6 separate regions of the Homo sapiens genome follow, and regions 1, 3, 4, 5 and 6 are each linked to region 2. The links are contacts of gene promoters, found by promoter capture Hi-C in blood cells and fetal thymus (Javierre and others, 2016). All regions are on one chromosome and are shown on one strand. The core of a region is centred on a gene start or on the middle of the fragment in contact, and the rest is flanking DNA. Distances in the headings are between cores, read along the strand shown. Region 1 has its middle 16 kb from the start of TPRKB. Region 2 holds the start of C2orf81 (chromosome 2 open reading frame 81). Region 3 overlaps TPRKB (TP53RK binding protein). Region 4 overlaps STAMBP (STAM binding protein). Region 5 overlaps DUSP11 (dual specificity phosphatase 11). Region 6 overlaps STAMBP (STAM binding protein).

Region 1 (2,847 bases), core at 259-2,758, 670 kb after region 2:
ATGCAAAATAAGGCATCTTTACAGTCCAAATCTGTAAACCAACCTAGTTCTCCTGACAAAGTGATCAGCAAGCTATAGGGGTTAGTTACCATAGGGTGTATGTCCTAGACTGTTTCATTACTGGCCCTAAGTCTTGTACAAACTGTAGTTGTCTTTTTTTTTTTTGAGACGAATCTCGCTCTGTCACCCAGCCTGGAGTGCAGTGGCACGATTTCGGCTCACTGCAAGCTCCGCCTCCCAGGTTCAAGCCATTCTCCTGCCTCAGCCTCCTGAGTAGCTGGGACTACAGGTGCCTGCCACCACGCCTGGCTAACTTTTTTGTATTTTTAGTAGAGATGGGGTTTACCATGTTAGCCAGGATGGTCTTGATCTCCTGACCTCGTGATCCGCCCGCCTCGGCCTCCCAAAGTGCTGGGATTACAGGCGTGAGCCACCACGCCCAGCCGAAACTGTAGTTGTCTTAATGGGACTTGCATGATGGTAAGATGTAGGGACCAGCCCCACAGGGTCAGTGGGTTTTTCTCCCCATGTGTGGAGACGAGAGATTGTAGAAATAAAGACACAAGACAAAGAGATAAAAGACAGCTGGGCCTGGGGGACCACTACCACCAAGATGCAGAGACCAGTAGTAGCCCCGAATGCCTGGCTGCACTGTTATTTATTGGATACAAGGCAAAAGGGGCAGGGTAAAGAGTGTGAGTCATCTCTAGTGATTGATAAGGTCACGTGAGTCACGTGTCCACTGGACAGGGGGCCCTTCCCTGCCTGGCAGCCGAGGCAGAGAGAGGGAGAGCGAGAGAGAGACAGCTTACGCCATTATTTCTGCATATCAGAGACTTTTAGTACTTTCATTAATTTTGCTACTGTTATCTAAAAGGCAGAGCCAGGTGTACAGGATGGAACTTGAAAGCAGACTAGGAGCGTGACCACTGAAGCACAGCATCACAGGGAGACAGGGTCAGGCCTCCGGATAACTGCGGGCGGGCCTGACTGATGTCAGGCCCTCCATAAGAGGTGGAGGAGTAGAATCTCCTCTAAACTCCCCCAGGGAAAGGGAGACTCCCTTTCCCGGTCTGCTAAGTAGCGGGTGTTTTTCCTTGACACTGATGCTACTGCTAGACCACGGTCTGCTTGGCAATGGGCGTCTTCCCAGACGCTGGCATTACCACTAGACCAAGGAGCCCTCTGGTGGCCCTGTCCGGGCATAACAGAAGGCTTGCACTCTTGTCTTCTGATCACTTCTCACTCACTATGTCCCTTCGGTTCCTATCTCTGTATGGCCTGGTTTTTCCTAGGTTATGATTATAGAGCGAGGATTATTACAGTATTGGAATAAAGAGTAATTGCTACAAACTAATGATTAATGATATTCATATATAATCATGTCTATGATTTAGATCTAGTATAACTCTTGTTGTTTTATATATTTTATTATACTGGAACAACTTGTGCCCTCGGTCTCTTGCCTCAGCACCTGGGTGGCTTGCTGCCCACCGTAGAACAGGAATGTTAAAGGGAGAATTACAGGACCAAATCAGTCCTTGTGCCAAAAAAGCCTTCCAAGAGTGGTTGAATACCCTTTCATGCCACTTCCTTTAATGGGTATTCTGTGTCTCTCTTTTAATTTTTATGGGTTTGGCTGTGACCACTCTCCCTGGCTTCCCTTGGGCCCAAACATCTCTCCTTACCTGTGTGAGAATTTCTTCTGGAATGTCCTGAACCTCTTCGTTTTCTGGTTGCAGCAGGAGTATTTGAAACCTGCAAACTTGTTCAGAAGGAATCATTATATCTAGGCATCTGGGGGGAAAGACAAGTTGAGCATACAATTTGGCAAGCAAATCCCAGCCCAGGAGGGGCACTGGGCATTAAGCATGTACAAGAAACTATGCCCTAGGCCGGTCTCTCGTAAATGGTAACCTGAAGATTGTAGAAAGGGATAATGGTGTCTCCCAATATCCGTGTAACAGTAATGGTTTTTCCCAAAGCTGGAGAGAGACAATTGTTAATTAATTAATATGTGGCACTGTGTCAAGTAAAAAGTCAATCATTCTGTTCCCCACTGTCAGTTGTATCTAGGAATCCTGTGGGGATATAGCCACTGGTTGCTCCAAGTCTAAGGGAGTCCCTGGGACACATCAGTCTTCATCTAAATATTATTCTCTCTCCTCATCTGATTTTGAGGGACACTGCACTTGCTAGCTGCTTTGGTCAATTTGGGACAGCCCTTTTTCCAGTGTCCCTCCTTCTTACAATAGGCATATTGGTTTTTTTTCTGAAGGGGGCGTGAGCCGCTCTTTGATTTCTTCCTTTTCCCCTAGGTTGGTAGTCAAGCACAGCTGCCAGTGAGTTACTTGTTGCTTCAATTTGCACTTTCCTGAGCCTCATCCTGAGCATAGTACACTTTAAAAGCTAAGTCCACTAAATGTGAGATTGGCAACCCAAGGATCCCATTTACCTTTTGCAGTTTTCTTTGAATATCAGGGCACTGTGGCTGATAAAGGTCACATTGACCATTCTCTGATTGTCCGGTGCCTCAGGGTTAGTTAGCGTCAACCTACTTTCCACATGTCTGATGGAGTCTTTCTGGGAATTACAAAGGGTCCTCATATGCTTGCCGCTGTACTTCCTGTACCTTATTGAGGCTCTTAACCTGAGTAACCCCTTTCCTCAAACCTTCAAGGATGTGGTTCTCATAGTGTCCTAAGTGGGAAAGGCCCCACCATTTACATCGCACCTGGTCTCTGTGTTAGGGACTGAGTCTATTGGCCAGGGGTGATTGTTTCCTGCCTCCAGATGGAGCCGATTTGCTTCTTCCCTAGCCTTTTCTGTGACTACATGCCTTTCTTC
Region 2 (3,029 bases), core at 52-2,551:
TGTGAGGTGAGTACCAGCAGCACTCGGAAGGGGAGGACACACCAGTGGACCTGGAGGGAGGTGCATCAGTGTAGGGAGAAAATCAAAGCAGGGAAGATGAGTTTGTTTGTTTTTTTTTTTTTTTTGGGGGACGGAGTCTTGCTCTGTGGCCCAGGCTGGAGTGCAGTGGCGCCATCTCGGCTCACTGCAACCTCAGCCTCCTGGGTTCAAGCGATTCTCCTGCCTCAGCCACCCAAGTAGCTGGGATTACAGGTGCACGCCACCACACCCGGTTAATTTTTTTTGTATTCTTAGTAGAGAAGAGGTTTCACCATGTTGGCCAGGCTGGTCTCGAACTCCTGGCCTCAAGTGCCCGTCTCAGCCTCCCAAAGTGTTGGGATTACAGGCGTGAGCCACCGCGCCCGGCAGGAGAGGGGAGATTCTGAGGTTAGGACATGCCTGGGGAGATTCTGAGGTTAGGACATGCCTGCTCCTGAAGGTTTGGAGAGAAAAGGCTGGGGGTAGGACTGGGTTCAGCAACATCACTCCCAGCTCCATGCCTCACCTGAGTGATAAGTGGGGGACTCACTCCAGCACCCTCCTTAGCGTGGAGCTGGCGCTGGGCCAAGGGCACACCCTCAGGAGCAGCGCTGAGAAGCTGGGCGCTTGGTCCATGAACCACGCCAAAATACGTGAGGTTGCGAGCCGGCAGCTGCAGCACACTGAGGTTGTTGCACAGGGCGGCGGCCGAGCCTCGCAGGGGAATGGAGCGCTCCCAGCGGAACATCCTGTGTGGGGGTGCAGCCGAATCACCAGGCGCGCTACAAACAGACGCAGCGGAGATGCCCGAGGGCGGCTATCATCGAGCATTTCGGAAGATGCCTGAGACTGGGTCATAGGATGGGGTGCCCAGAGGACGGTGATGGGGGAGGGTCTCGAGGAGCAAGACAGGGGAGTCCCAGGGCTGTTTTGGGGCGACGGGGGAATCGCAGAGGAGGAATGGGGATGACACAGGACCACCCGATGGCCCCAAGCCCGCGAGCCAAATAAGTGTGATGAAGCCCCCAAGGCTTTCTCCCTCGGCTCGGATCCCTGAAGCCCCCGGCCTAGATCAGAGGTAACACCTGCAGCCCCAGATCGGCTCGCCTGACTCCTGGTTCGTAGGGTCCCTCCAAATCCGCCGCCACCATAGAGACGACGCACGTACGCACGGCCCTTGGGCGGGGTGAGCGGCCGGAACGTGCCGCGGGCGGCGCGGTTGCCGGGGCAACTGTGGGCGGGGCGAGCGACCCCGAGCCCGTGGTTGCCCAGGCGACTGTTAGGTGGCTTACGCGGCCCGGATGCAGCAGAAACACCAGCGTTGCTGCGACCGCGTTGGCGATGGCGCACGAAGGCTCGGTGAGCTTCAGTTCAGCTGGGGATGCGCCAGAGCCAGGGTCGGCCGTTAAGGTCGGTGTCGGGAACAGTGGGCTGGCTCTGGGCCGCCCAGTGCCCCTACTTGCTCCCGCCCACCGCGCGGGAGTTTAGATGACCAAGGAAGCCACGTCGGTACTCGGGCAGAAAACCTACACCTGCACGGTGCCCACTCAAACGCTTTGTTACACTCAAGCCATGAGGGAAAGGGTCAGTGGGTGGTGTAGAGCCCGAGAACAGGAAGTGGATTTTGAAACAGCTAATGAATGTAGTAAGTCTCTTACATGGTGGTGCGTATTTAAATGGATGAGCATTTAGAGAGGGAAGATAACAGAAAAAATCTATTTCGAGAATTTCAAGAGGAAGAAATATATTAAATAATTCAGAGACTGCACTTGAAAGTCAAATTGTTTAAGAGCCAATCAATTTTAAAATAAAGAAAACGGGGCCGGTCTCAATGGCTCATGCCTGTAATCCCAGCACTTTGAGAGGCTGAGGCGGGAGGATTGCCTGAGCTCAGGAGTTCAAGACCAGCCAGGCCAACATGGCGAGACCCCGTCTCGACTAAAATACAAAAAATTAGCTGGATGTGGTGGCGCGGTGCCTGTAATCCCAGCTACTCGGGAGGCAGAGGCAGGAGAATTGCTTGAACTCGGGAGGCGGAGGTTGCAGTGAGCCGAGATCGCGCCACTGCGCTCTAGCCTGGGTGACAGAGAGAGACTGTCTCAAAAAAAAAAAAAAAAAAAAAAAAAAAAGAAGAAGAAGAAAGAAAACGGATTTGAAGAGCCTTTGTGCAAAAATATCTCTGTCCCTTCTGGTCACCATCACGGGTGTCAGATGCGAGGCTGGGAGGGGAGGTCTAAGGAAACAACTCTCTTTACTCAGTCCAGTCAGCCCTGCTCTAGTCAAGCTTGGCCTGGGCTATGGGCCACTCCTGGTGCTTGCTACAGGGCTGTTCTCACTGGTGGATAGGGTTAATGAGACTTCAGGGATTTTGAGTTCTGCAAGACTTAGGAAACAGCAGATTTGGGGGGATAATGAATTTTAGGAAACAGATATGAGACAAGGTTTTAGCGGGGCAATAGGCAAAGGTTTGGGAAGATCACATTTGGAAGTACATTTTGGAAGGAACCAGGTTCAGGGAGACTGTTGTGGGGAATTGAGGGAGCTCCCAAGAGATTGTTTGTAAACTTTTTATGTCTCTAAAGTGAGTTTTGGGGACTAGTCTTTTTTTTTTTTTAAGTGATTACAAAAGGAAACAAACTCATTGTAGAGAACTTACAAAATAGAAAAGAGCATAGGAAGGAAACGTATCCTCTGTTATCATTTTGAAGTTTTCCTTTTGTTGAACACATAGTGGTTTACATATATGAGATCATAATTGATGTGTAAGTTTGTATCCTGCTTCTTTCAATTAACGTTACATCATAAACATTTGCTTTATGCCATTGCAAATTCTTTCTAAAGATTACCTTTAATGGCTGGGTTGGTGGCTCATGCCTGCAAGGTGGGCAGATCACTTGAGGCCAGTTCAAGACCAGTCTGGCCAACATGGCGAAACCCCATCTCTACTAAAAATAGAAAAAAAATTAGCCAGGCCTGGTGGCAGGCGCCTGTAATCCCAGCTACTCCGGAGG
Region 3 (2,735 bases), core at 180-2,679, 690 kb after region 2:
ACAACAGAACAACTCAGAAGGGTTAGGAAGACAACATCTCATGAGGATGCCAAATGGGCTTTGGCGATGGATTTTTCTAGTTTAACACTTTTATCAAGTTACTTTCAAAGTTTTTGAATATTTATTAAGAAATGAGTTCTGATGTTAACTTTTAAATGAAATCTTTTGGTCTTTTCATTTTGTGTGCAGTAGAATCCTGCTTATCTGTGAAATGCAGTTAACACATCAGCTGGACCTATTTCCCGAATGCAGGGTAACCCTTCTGTTATTTAAAGATGTAAAAAATGCGGGAGACTTGAGAAGAAAGGCCATGGAAGGCACCATCGATGGATCACTGATAAATCCTACAGTGGTAAATATAAATTTTAAGAATGAATGAGCCTGCTGGGTGCGGTGGCTCACGCCTGTAATGCCAGCACTTTAGGAGGCCGAGGCGGGTGGATCATCTGAGGTCAGGAGTTGAAGACCAGCCTGGCCAACATGGTGAAACCCTGTCTCAACTAAAAATACAAAAATTAGCTGGGCGTGGTGGCGGGCGCCTATAATCCCAGCTACTCGGGAGGCTGAGGCAGGAAAATCATTTGAACCCTGGAGGCAGAGGTTGCAGTGAGCCAAGATTGCGCCATTGCACTCCAGCCTGGGCGACGAGCAAAACTCTGTCTGGAAAAAAAAAATGGCCAGGCATGGTAGCTCACGCCTGTAATCCCAGCCCTTTGGGAGGCCGAGGCAGGCAGATCATGAGGTCAGGAGTTTGAGACCAGCCTGGCCAATATGGTGAAACCCTGTCTCTACTAAAAATACAAAAATTAGCTGAGCATGGTGGTGGGCACCTGTACTCAGGAGACTGAGGCAGGAGAATCGCTTGAGCCTGGGAGGCAGAGGTTGCAGTGAGCCGAGATTGTGCCACTGCACTCCAGCCTGGGCAACAGACCAAGAATCCGCCTCAAAAAAAAAAAAAAAAAAAAAGAATGAATGAGCCATACAGGGCATTTAAGTATACATTAATATTTGTGATGTTATAGGGTAGCCTAAAAATCTGTCACGGTTAGGGAAAAAATTCTTGTCCAAGTCAGATGCAGCCAACTTTGACTATAACAGTGAATAGAGGCAGAAGTGCCAGGTCCTGCCCTAGGAAATAGGAAAGGTTGTGGTCTGGGTCTAATATGGGAAATGCCTGGATCTCCAGCTTCTCATCTTTAAAATGGGGGTTCCTAACAAGACAGTCTGTAGAGGAGGAATAGTGTAGTGGTTAAGAGTACACACAGAGGCCAAGGTGGGTGGATTGCTTGAGGCCCGGAGTTTGAGACCAGCCTGGCCTACATAGTGAAACCGTGTCTCTACTAAAAATACAAAAAGTAGCTGGGTGTGGTGGTGTGTGCTGGTAGTCCCAGCTACTCGGGAGGCTGAGGCACAAGAATCATTTGAACCTGGGAGGCGGAGGTTACAGTGAATTGAGATTGAGCCACTGCATTCCAGCCTGGGCAATGGAGCGAGAGACTCTGTCTGTCTCCAAAAAAAAAAAAAAACAAAAAAACAGGGCACACGCAGTGCGATCATGTTACCGGGAATTAATCCCAGACCTACTACTTAGGCCTTTGAACAAGACATAACCAACCTTTATATAGTGCTTACTGCATTCCTAGCATTGTTCCAAGTGCTTTACGTATACTAACTTGCTTAATCTTCACAACAGCCTATGGAGTGAATACTGTTTCATCGGTCTCTAACAAATAAAATGCTAATGAACTTGCATAAGTTTCCTAGGTGATAGGTGACAGAGATGGGATTCAAACCCAGACATTCTTTGCCTCAATTTCCTCATCAATTACATACTACTACTACTGCTACTACTACTAATAATAGTGTCAATTTCATAGGGTAGTTTTGAGGATTAAAGAAAATATTACAAGTAAAATGTTTGCAATATGATCATGCCCATAATATTAGCCCTCAATTAATGTTATTTAAAAAAATTTTACTATTTGCATAAGTTCCTTGCAGCTTTAAAATTCTGTGATTTCCTGACTACCCAGGCCCTTGGGATAATAGTTGTTTTTTGTTTTTTTTTTTTTTGAGACAGTTTCACTCTTGTTGCCCAGGCTGGAGTGCAATGGCGCGATCTTGGCTCACGGCAACCTCTGCCTCCCGGGTTCAAGCAATTGTCCTGCCTCAGCCTCCTGAGTTGCTGGGATTACAGGTGCGTGCCACCACGCCTGACTAATTTTTGTATTTTTAGTAGAGAGGGTTTCGCCGTGTTGGCCAGGCTGGTCTTGAACCCTGACGTCAGGTGATCTACCCACCTTGGCCTCCCAAAGTGCTAGGATTACAGGTGTGAGCCACCGTGCCCAGCCGGGATAATAGTTTTGAAAATACAGACCGTAAGAATTGTGATGAAGTAAAACAGCTTGACACTGGAGTTAACCATGAGTTACCATGTGTTTTCAGGCACTGCAGATTCTCCATGTGTAATTAATTCTTTTTCCTTGCTTTGGTAGATTGTTGATCCATTTCAGATACTTGTGGCAGCAAACAAAGCAGTTCACCTCTACAAACTGGGAAAAATGAAGACAAGAACTCTATCTACTGAAATTATTTTCAACCTTTCCCCAAATAACAATGTAATGTGCACTTTCCTATTTCTGTTGACCGTGTCATAATAACATATGTGTTCCTCAGTGTTGGGTTGGAGGCTAAATTCCTGCAAGCCAGTGGTTAGTAATAAACCCAAATAATAG
Region 4 (2,708 bases), core at 68-2,567, 560 kb after region 2:
GACAATATGAAAACGCTGCAAAACAACAAAAAACACACACAACAAATTGTGGGAAACAGACTATAGTTGCCACTGGAGTTCAAGGAAGGAAGCCCTCAGAGTGAACCTACCAGTGAGGGAAGGCACTAAAGGAACTGGAAGGACAGAGCCCATGGTTATGTAGCGTCACAGTGCTGGATTCTGGATCTAACAGGCTGATTGAATGATGCCGGACACACCTGTAAGTTAAGGCCCAGCTTCTAATCTCAAACAGGCTAAGGTGAACTAAAAATTGAACCCTGGATTAAGGGGTGAAGACTTCAGTGAAGAGGGCCAATGTTCTGCCCTTCCTTCATCTCAAGAAGTAGTTGGAACAACAAAAGTGGGAGGTTCAAACAAGAGTGGGCTGGAGCCAAGGGAAAATAGAGATGATGTAATTTCTTTAGGTCCTGGGTCTGCTCTGGGTCTTAGGGAGAATGAGTAGAAATTTGGAATGGTTCTTGAGGTCCTCAGTTTTCCTGCTCAGAACATCAAGGTAGACCAGATAGCTTTGGAGTCAAAGCCTAGCTAGTGCTAAAGAATGTGGATCTGCCCAAAGATTCCTCTAGCTGTATGCTGAATGGGCAGAGGTCCAGAAGATAGAAGCAACCGCACCCCAACTGTAACATTTCAAGAAAGACAAGTAACAAATCCCTTATATCTTTATAGCATCTTTCAACTAACGTAGGCCTCATATGCATATAGATGTCATTCTGTCATCATTTGAGGTAGGCATATTAGACTGATCCCATTTTACAGATTTTAAAGAAATTTAGGAAGTTAAGTGATTTGCTGGTGAATGTATAGCTGGGCCTAGAAGCAAAGCCTTAAATGTTCAACCTGGCACTTCCCCTGGAGAGGATAATATTCCAATAGTCCTGATCTAAACAGGATTTCCAGTGCCCCAAGCAAAGCTCCTCAGAAAAAGACATGATCCTTGACTCAGAAGTTCTACTCTGGGCTCACATGTTTGAAAGATCCTTGGACAAACTGGTCTCCAAACTCAGGTGGGGTTAAAACACTGAGATATGAGGGATGGGAGGCACAATATCAATAGCTGACTCTATTTTCTAGGGAACAACATCTACTCTGGTCCTAAAACTGTGTTCTCAAAATCCACTGGAAACATATCAAAATTGCAGGATTCACCAGACTTTCACTCATTAAAGCTTTGCTCCTAATAGCCTCCATTCTTCTCAACCCCAATATGAAAAATTTCTCTTTCAACTGGGGTAACTAAAACCCCAAAGAAGCCATCAACAGTCAAAAGGGATAGGCACTTACAATTTTAAATTCTGTGGTACCAAATGAAAGCTGAAATCCTTGCCTCTCAAGCAAGAAAATCCACCATGACACTGGCCCAAGGGAATGTTTCTCTCATGCTGCCTTTTATGGTATCTGGTACCCAAGACAATATTACAAAAGCTTAAGGGTTTCTTCTTCTTCCCCTTTGGTCCCATTTAACAAGGAGTATGTGAAAGTGATCATCTGAAAAAACCCAGCTCTGCTCTGACCCCAAGCAAATCAGCTCCTCTGATTCTCTCTGCACCTGGCCTATGGCACTTTGGTAGGTTTGTGCCTCCCAGGGCAACTGGGACATTGTTTGGCAACCTGACGATGCTTTTGTCTCCCCTCTCAGCCCAGAACACTAAGTATGGTACTTGTGCAGCTTGCAAGAGTGGAAAAGTCTCCTGGTCTTTGAGCCTCGGGAACCCAGGAGTCAGTCCCTTTAGCCAAATAGTCATTACCCTTTCAATACAATGTCTTTCCTCAGGTTGCGTGGTCTTTGTCCCTTTTACCCACAGTATTCCTTTCCTCTTTTCCCGACCGCTCTGGCTACTCCTCTTTCTCTCCGGCCTATCCAGTCTCAGGGCTTGTGGGCTGGCTTGATTCCACGTCTCCTCCACAGAGGTAAGATGAAGACAGAGACACTTAGACCATCCTATGCAGAGTGCCTCTGCAGTGGCTAGGCTGCAGCAGATATGAAGAGGGATCTACAGACTGATTTCCTGCACCCATCTAGCCACTAAGATATCTTGTGCCTAGAGGAAGAGAAAAGAAAATATAGCAGTTTGGTGATCAGTCTGTGATCAATGTGGTTGCAACGTATGATATGTTGTTGACCTGGCTGAATGTCTTTGGTGGGCAGAGACGGATAAGAGAGCTCACAATTCTTAGGTATCAAAGACCAATGCAGTGGTTGTCAACCCTGGTTGTACTTGAGAATTCTAGCAGCTTGAAAGACAAATGCAGAAACAACATCTGAGGCTCCACCCTAGAGATTCAGCTTTAATTGGTGGGGGGTAGAACACAGGCATCAGTATTTTTTAAATTGCTCCCTAGATATTTGAATATATAGCCAGGGGTAAGAACTTTAAGTGGAAAGTTCTGACTAAAAGCTAAATTTAGATTTTCAGCAATGGGAAGCTATTGCAGGTTTTTGAGCAAGAGAGAAAACATGAACATGGCTGGAATGTGAGAAGCTTCTCCTGATCAAAGTGTGCAGAACAGACTGGAATGAAGAAATGCTAAAAACAAAGAGACTTGGTAAAAGCCAACGGCTACAGTCGAAATAAAAGGTAAGAAAGCCCTAAGCTAAGTGGTAGACAAAGAATGGGAAGAAGGGGATGGATTTCCCAAAAGCAGAGGACTGGGCAATTTCAGGACTGTTTAGAGCAAGGTGGAACAGC
Region 5 (2,708 bases), core at 33-2,532, 650 kb after region 2:
TGGAAGAAAGGATTGTTGTAATATACCTTCTATGTTCCAGGAGAATGGAAACTTTCCTTTGAATCTCGTTGTATGTTAGCATCACAGGACTTGAATAAATGCCTAATGTAGTACAGGATTTTAAGCACATATTTGCTCTTATTTCATTCTCTGTGACAGAGTTTTGAAAAGAAACTTGCTCCAGAAGAATGCTTTTCCCCTTTGGATCTTTTTAACAAAATCCGAGAACAAAATGAAGAACTTGGACTGATTATTGATTTAACATATACTCAACGCTATTATAAACCAGAGGTAAGTGGAACCCTTCAATGAAAAGAACTTTCTTCCTTCTGATCCTAAAATAATTTATAGTAATTCAGTAATCATCTTGTGCTAATGTGAAGCTTGGCCTTCTTTGATGGGTAGTAAGTTTAAAAGAGAACCAAGTGATTTCTCTAATTACATGTTTTTAATTGCTGTCTTAAATGGAATATTATTCAGCCATAAAAAAGAATAGATTTAATACGTGCTACAATATGGATGAACCTTAAAAACATGCTTAGTGAAATAAACCAGACACAGAAGGACAAATATATGATTCCACTTGTATGAAGTACCTAGAATAGACAAATTCACAGAGACAGAAAGCAGACTAAAGGATCTATGAGGTGGGGAGAAAAGGGAATTATGGTTTAGTGGTCAGAGTCTTTTTGTCGGGGATGATGAAAAAGTTTTGGGTATAGACAGTGGTGATGGTTACACAATACTGTGAATGTAATGCCACTGAACTATACACTTGTGGATGGTTAAAATGATTTTGACTTAGCCTCTTCTGTCTTTTATCTGTATCTACTTTTCTCCCACCCCAAGAATATCGGTTCTCAATAGTGCCTGGAATTCCCTCTATCTCACAATTCAAATCCAAGTTCTTCTGACTCTATTCTCTACTCTTCTACTTAAATCATAGCTGCTTTATGAAGGCACTGGCCCTTGAATTATAAAATATTAAATGGAACTGTTTATATAATTTATAGTTAAATATGCATTCATTCACATGGAATTTGCTTTCAGTTTTGTATACCTAGTGACTATCTATTATGTAGTTTTATTGAAAATCAAGTGATACTTCCTGGTTGAAGCAGTGTTGGAAAAAATGGCTCTTTTATCAGAATTGTGTATACTGATATTGGCATATTAAGTTTGTTATAATCTCTTGGCTTATATTCTGGGTCCCCTAATTACTCTTTAATTATTTCTCTACAAGTGAAATAATACACATCTTTTATGGTTTTGCTTTATAGGATTTGCCAGAAACTGTTCCTTACTTAAAAATTTTTACAGTTGGACATCAAGTGCCTGATGATGAGACTATTTTTAAATTCAAACACGCTGTTAATGGGTTTTTGAAAGAAAATAAAGATAATGGTGAGTTTTTGTTCTTACCTGAACTGTGGTGTGCATTATGAATGGGGTTGGGGATTTTTGGTATTTTTTTATAGTTCCAACCTCAGACCTGTTGTATTTAATGATGCTAAGGTGATGAAAATGTCAGATGGTGCTAATAGGGTAAGATGTTTTTCCTTTTGTTGATCACAAATAATTTAACTTTGGAATGTTAAATTAGTTTTAGTGCAAAATATGAACTGAACTGGCTCATCTTTCTTTTTTAATTTGAATGAGAAATATATAAAATTAAAATGTTATTTTTGTCTTCTATATTGGTTAAGAAGTGAGAAGTAGAAGAAAAGATTAAAAAACTCTGAGTCTTAGAGTTATGTGAAAGAGACAAGAAAGGGCAAAGATTAAGAATGGGACGGACCCCTAGAAGCAAAACAAGAAAGAGTGCACCAGTGGAATTGCCCCTTTGTCATATGTATTTAAGACACATGTATACATATGTAACAAACCTGCACGTTGTGCACATGTACCCTAAAACTTAAAGTATAATTAAAAAAAAGATATTTCTGCTGTTTTTCCGCTTTGAGTACAGATGGGGAAGGATACCACCACCTCTTATTCTTCACATGGGAGAACTTAAGCCAAAGGCTGGTGCTTTCTTGTTCCTGCTTTAAGATTTACCTTACTCTTTTGAAAATAGAACTTAACAGCTTCTTTATCTTAAGGATCCAGTTGCCTTTTTCTGGCATCTCTCTGCCAGAAAGAACATGATATTTGTCATATTTTAAGACTGAAGAAGCTTTTATCTTTGGAAAGCCACTGACACCCACAGGACAGAGGCTTCATTTGCCTTCTTTCCAAATTTAGCTTGAGGAGTGTACACTTTGTTACATAAATCTGACAGTAAATACTCCTTTTTAAAAAATGTGATGGAGTAGTGGAGAAAGAATAGAGACAGAGGTGGGAAGATAGGGAATGGAAGGTGAGAGATAGAGACTGGATCAGTGGGTTTGAAGATAAAATTTCAAATTGTAACCTAGTCGCTCACTTAATGTGGACACTAGCTTTTAATTATGTTAAACCTTGTTCACAGATCTTCCCCTGTACTTTAACTTTAAAACTTGAGAGGTTTGGCTTTCCCATTTGTATAAGCTGTTGTCACAGAAATACTACCTTTTAAGATATGAGGGTACAGCTGATGGCCTATTCACTGCTTCCAGGCTCTTTTCTGTGAAATTTTTATATAGCACTTCATCTGTTCTGTGAGGGCTAGGAGGTCCTTATGAATACATGAGAACACATTTTTAAATCTTAGTTGTTCACGTTATACT
Region 6 (2,915 bases), core at 19-2,518, 580 kb after region 2:
TTGTTCTTATGATTCTCACTCTAGACATAGCAGGTAGGCGACAGATTTTCTGTCCCTCAAGTCACTCTCTTCGACAAATAGGCTATATCTGTGTTACAACCCTGAGCCTAACCACTGGTGTTCTACTTTTTTGAGTTTCTGGTCTTTGCCCAAAAAAGGTGAAACAGCACATTAAAAGCACAGGATATATTGAAATGTCATATTACAATCCCAGGGCACAGCCTAAAAAAGCAAAATAATTTTCTTCTTAGCTGTTATATACTGACCTTTTCTTCATTATATTCTGTATATTCTTTGGTATATCGTTTTAACAGCTCTGCCTTCAGCTCTTCTGCTTTGGGAAATGCAATCTCCTTTAATTTCTGAGACACAAAACAGAAAATAGAATTAGAACAATGCCAGAAAATTACAGAATCCAAAAGAAGACTTAAGTCAAGTTGGTGACTGCAACATTTCCCAAAATGATTTAAAATACCCCCTACTGTACCATACCTGCTACTTCAGAACTGTTGTGGTGAAATGGCCTTATCTCCTATTGCAGGATCTGGTACTCAGATGCAGAGACTACTACTTTTATCTTGAAGTCAGTCTGTGCTGCTCTGAAGCTTTTAGATGGGCAACAATGAAAGTGAAGACCCACCTTTACTGTGTCTTTCTTTTCAGGAATGACAGCAGATTTGTAATCTCGATGTTTTGGTAGTTTCTCAATAAAGAGCCTAAGGAAACAGTTCAAAATGATTATGAAGCAAATGGTCCAAATGTCCATAAGACCCTAAAGCTATGCAACCCCCTTATCCTGAAGCCCTTATATGAAAGGTTCCAGAAGTGCAGCGGAGGGAGAGCTAATACACCCAGCTGGGCCATGCTCCTTTCCCATCTCTATCCCCCTAAAGAGCCAGAGTCTTTTCCTCTACTCCCAAACTAGGCAGCAAGCACCAGACTCCTACAATGAAAAAGATGGCCAAAAAAATTTTAAAAAGCCTTTCTTGTGCCCAAAAATGTACCTCCAAAGAAAGAGATCTTTTTCTTGTTGTGACGTGACAGGTTTTCAAAGGAAAGGGCTTCTGTCACATAGCAGTCTTCAGAGAACCGTTTGGCAGCCATGGGCAGGAAGCAAGAGAAAACCATGTTTCCTTACTCCTTCTAGCTCTTATGTAACCTTTAACTTTGGCTTTTTTCCTTTGGGATTCGTGTTCCTTCAAAGAAGAATACTACTTTGCATCATACAAAAATGCATGGAAATACTTAGTGCATGTGTTCTATGCATGTAGTATGTGCATATTACATGTTAGCATGCACTGTCTTTGATGAAAAGTGCTTAGGTAAATATAAGATGCTAGATTTCATCTTTTGGTTCTTGTCCATGGCTCTAAAGCTCAGTGGGGAGAATAAACTTAATTAATTCACAAATCTCTAACATTTAAGACATCTACTTAGGGGCAGTGAAAATAAATAAAAGTCCAGTAACCTGTCACAGAAAGAAAGTGGCAGATTCAGAATTTCAGTATGAGCAGGCTGGCTCCAGAGCCTATTCTTTTAACCACTACACCATACTTCTTCCATACGGATTCTGGAATGTCTAGAACTACTGGAGGGATTCTGAACAAAGATGTCTTTTAACAGAATTAAGTTGTAATACACAGAAACTGAGATAAAAAAATAAATTGAAGGTAGCTTGCTGATAGCTCTAAAATATTATATTGTAATTGGGATAAACTCTTTTCTACTTACTGCCCATGGGGCAGAAGTAATTGGAAGAAGAATCCTCAATAAAGAAAAAAGATGATCCCCACCAAAACAAACTTTCTAAAGATAAGTCCTCATCCTTCAGTTCTATATTAGGCACACAAGTTTCATTTTGATCCAACTTGATAAGGCTCCTCAAGGCAGGGATGGACTCTAAAATAAAAATGGTTCTTTAAAAAGCTTCCTTTTGGGTTCATGAAGAAGATATAAAAGAGGCTGGGTGCGGTGGCTCATGCCTGTAATCCCAGCACTTTGGGAGACCGAGGCAGGAAGACTGCTTGAGCCCAGGAGTTCAAGACCAGCCTGGGTAACAGGGTGAGACCTTGTCTCTATTTATATTTTTTAATTTATATATATATATACATATATATATATACATACACAAACATATATAACAAAACATAAAAAAACACAAAAATTAGCTGGGTGTGGTGGTATGCATCTGTAGTCCCAGCTGCTTGGGAGGCTGAGGCAGGAGGATCTCTCGATCCCAGAAGTCTGAGGTTACAGTGAGCTTTGATCACACCACTGCACTCCAGCCTGGGTGACAGAGGGAGATCCTATCTCTATTTGGAAAAAAAAAAAAAAAAAGAAAGATATAAAACAGTTTCCTTGAAGTCTATATTTAAAAGAAATACAGATTCATTTGTTCAAACCATAAAGTCCTGAAGAATCTATTAAGATAAATAAGACATATTTCTTATATTTTAGAGACTGATAGATGATTCAGTAGAACTCTCATCTTAGCCCCAAAAGCCAAGATACATATTAATATTTACTACCTTTAGCAGGCTGAATGTGCTTTGTATTGAGGCCTGAATCAGCTAAGAAAGTACTATGTCATATAAACACTATGTTTTATTTTTACTTATGCTCTTATTATAGAACTACACTGCGAGCTTCCTGAGGCCAGAGATTTCTGTGTTTCATGCTTCTTTGTATACTCCTTGGAAGCCAGCACAGTGCCTTGTATAAAGAGGCACTCAATAAATATTTGATGAGTAAACATTACATATATGTACAAGTATGTACATATACACAGTAAGTCCTTAATGTTGATAGGTTCTTGGAAATTGTGACTTTAAGCACAATGACATATAACAAAACCAACTTTACCATGCACTAATTGACATAAACAAGAGTTAAGTTCCTTTGATCTATCCTGGTCA

What was found. Contacts are between HindIII fragments. The CHiCAGO score rates a contact against its expected background, and 5 or more counts as called.
Region 1: a contact is called between a fragment that was not itself captured here and the fragment with the promoter of C2orf81 in region 2, in 1 of 17 cell types (neutrophils). The highest score is 5.9, in neutrophils.
Region 3: a fragment that was not itself captured here is called in contact with the fragment with the promoter of C2orf81 in region 2 in 1 of 17 cell types (naive CD4 T cells); the score reaches 5.3 in naive CD4 T cells.
Region 4: a fragment that was not itself captured here is called in contact with the fragment with the promoter of C2orf81 in region 2 in 4 of 17 cell types (naive CD8 T cells, activated CD4 T cells, M2 macrophages and 1 more); the score reaches 6.6 in naive CD8 T cells.
Region 5: a fragment that was not itself captured here is called in contact with the fragment with the promoter of C2orf81 in region 2 in 11 of 17 cell types (activated CD4 T cells, total CD8 T cells, naive CD4 T cells and 8 more); the score reaches 11.8 in activated CD4 T cells.
Region 6: a contact is called between a fragment that was not itself captured here and the fragment with the promoter of C2orf81 in region 2, in 1 of 17 cell types (total CD4 T cells). The highest score is 6.2, in total CD4 T cells.

Annotation. Positions count from the first base shown.
Region 1 is chr2:73,752,398-73,755,244 of GRCh38, reverse strand. No RefSeq gene overlaps it. Among named protein-coding and RNA genes, the nearest start is that of TPRKB, 16 kb to the right of the region's middle. RefSeq lists a silencer at 1,064-1,247. The HindIII fragment of the contact is 4,937 bases long and covers 1-2,847 here.
Region 2 is chr2:74,419,891-74,422,919 of GRCh38, reverse strand. C2orf81 (chromosome 2 open reading frame 81) reads left to right here and starts at 1,301. Exons shown (of 3, transcript NM_001316764.3): 1 at 1,301-1,377. The coding sequence starts at 1,360. WDR54 (WD repeat domain 54) reads right to left here and starts at 1,190. Exons shown (of 10, transcript NM_032118.4): 1 at 1,104-1,190; 2 at 545-767; 3 at 1-50. The coding sequence starts at 766. RefSeq lists an enhancer at 511-690 and a silencer at 1,091-1,370. The HindIII fragment of the contact is 12,224 bases long and covers 1-2,304 here.
Region 3 is chr2:73,732,046-73,734,780 of GRCh38, reverse strand. It overlaps TPRKB (TP53RK binding protein), which reads left to right. Exons shown (of 5, transcript NM_016058.5): 2 at 190-352; 3 at 2,496-2,618. The coding sequence starts at 212. Among named protein-coding and RNA genes, the nearest start is that of TPRKB, 3.9 kb to the left of the region's middle. The HindIII fragment of the contact is 4,504 bases long and covers 1-2,735 here.
Region 4 is chr2:73,863,696-73,866,403 of GRCh38, reverse strand. It overlaps STAMBP (STAM binding protein), which reads right to left. Exons shown (of 10, transcript NM_213622.4): 10 at 1-2,708. Among named protein-coding and RNA genes, the nearest start is that of ACTG2, 28 kb to the left of the region's middle. The HindIII fragment of the contact is 256 bases long and covers 1,190-1,445 here.
Region 5 is chr2:73,772,496-73,775,203 of GRCh38, reverse strand. It overlaps DUSP11 (dual specificity phosphatase 11), which reads left to right. Exons shown (of 9, transcript NM_003584.3): 3 at 160-291; 4 at 1,281-1,404. Among named protein-coding and RNA genes, the nearest start is that of DUSP11, 6.3 kb to the left of the region's middle. The HindIII fragment of the contact is 1,793 bases long and covers 386-2,178 here.
Region 6 is chr2:73,842,614-73,845,528 of GRCh38, reverse strand. It overlaps STAMBP (STAM binding protein), which reads right to left. Exons shown (of 10, transcript NM_213622.4): 3 at 641-716; 4 at 267-362. The region is part of intron 1 of LOC112268419 (a long non-coding RNA gene); the gene reads left to right. Among named protein-coding and RNA genes, the nearest start is that of STAMBP, 15 kb to the right of the region's middle. The HindIII fragment of the contact is 1,321 bases long and covers 608-1,928 here.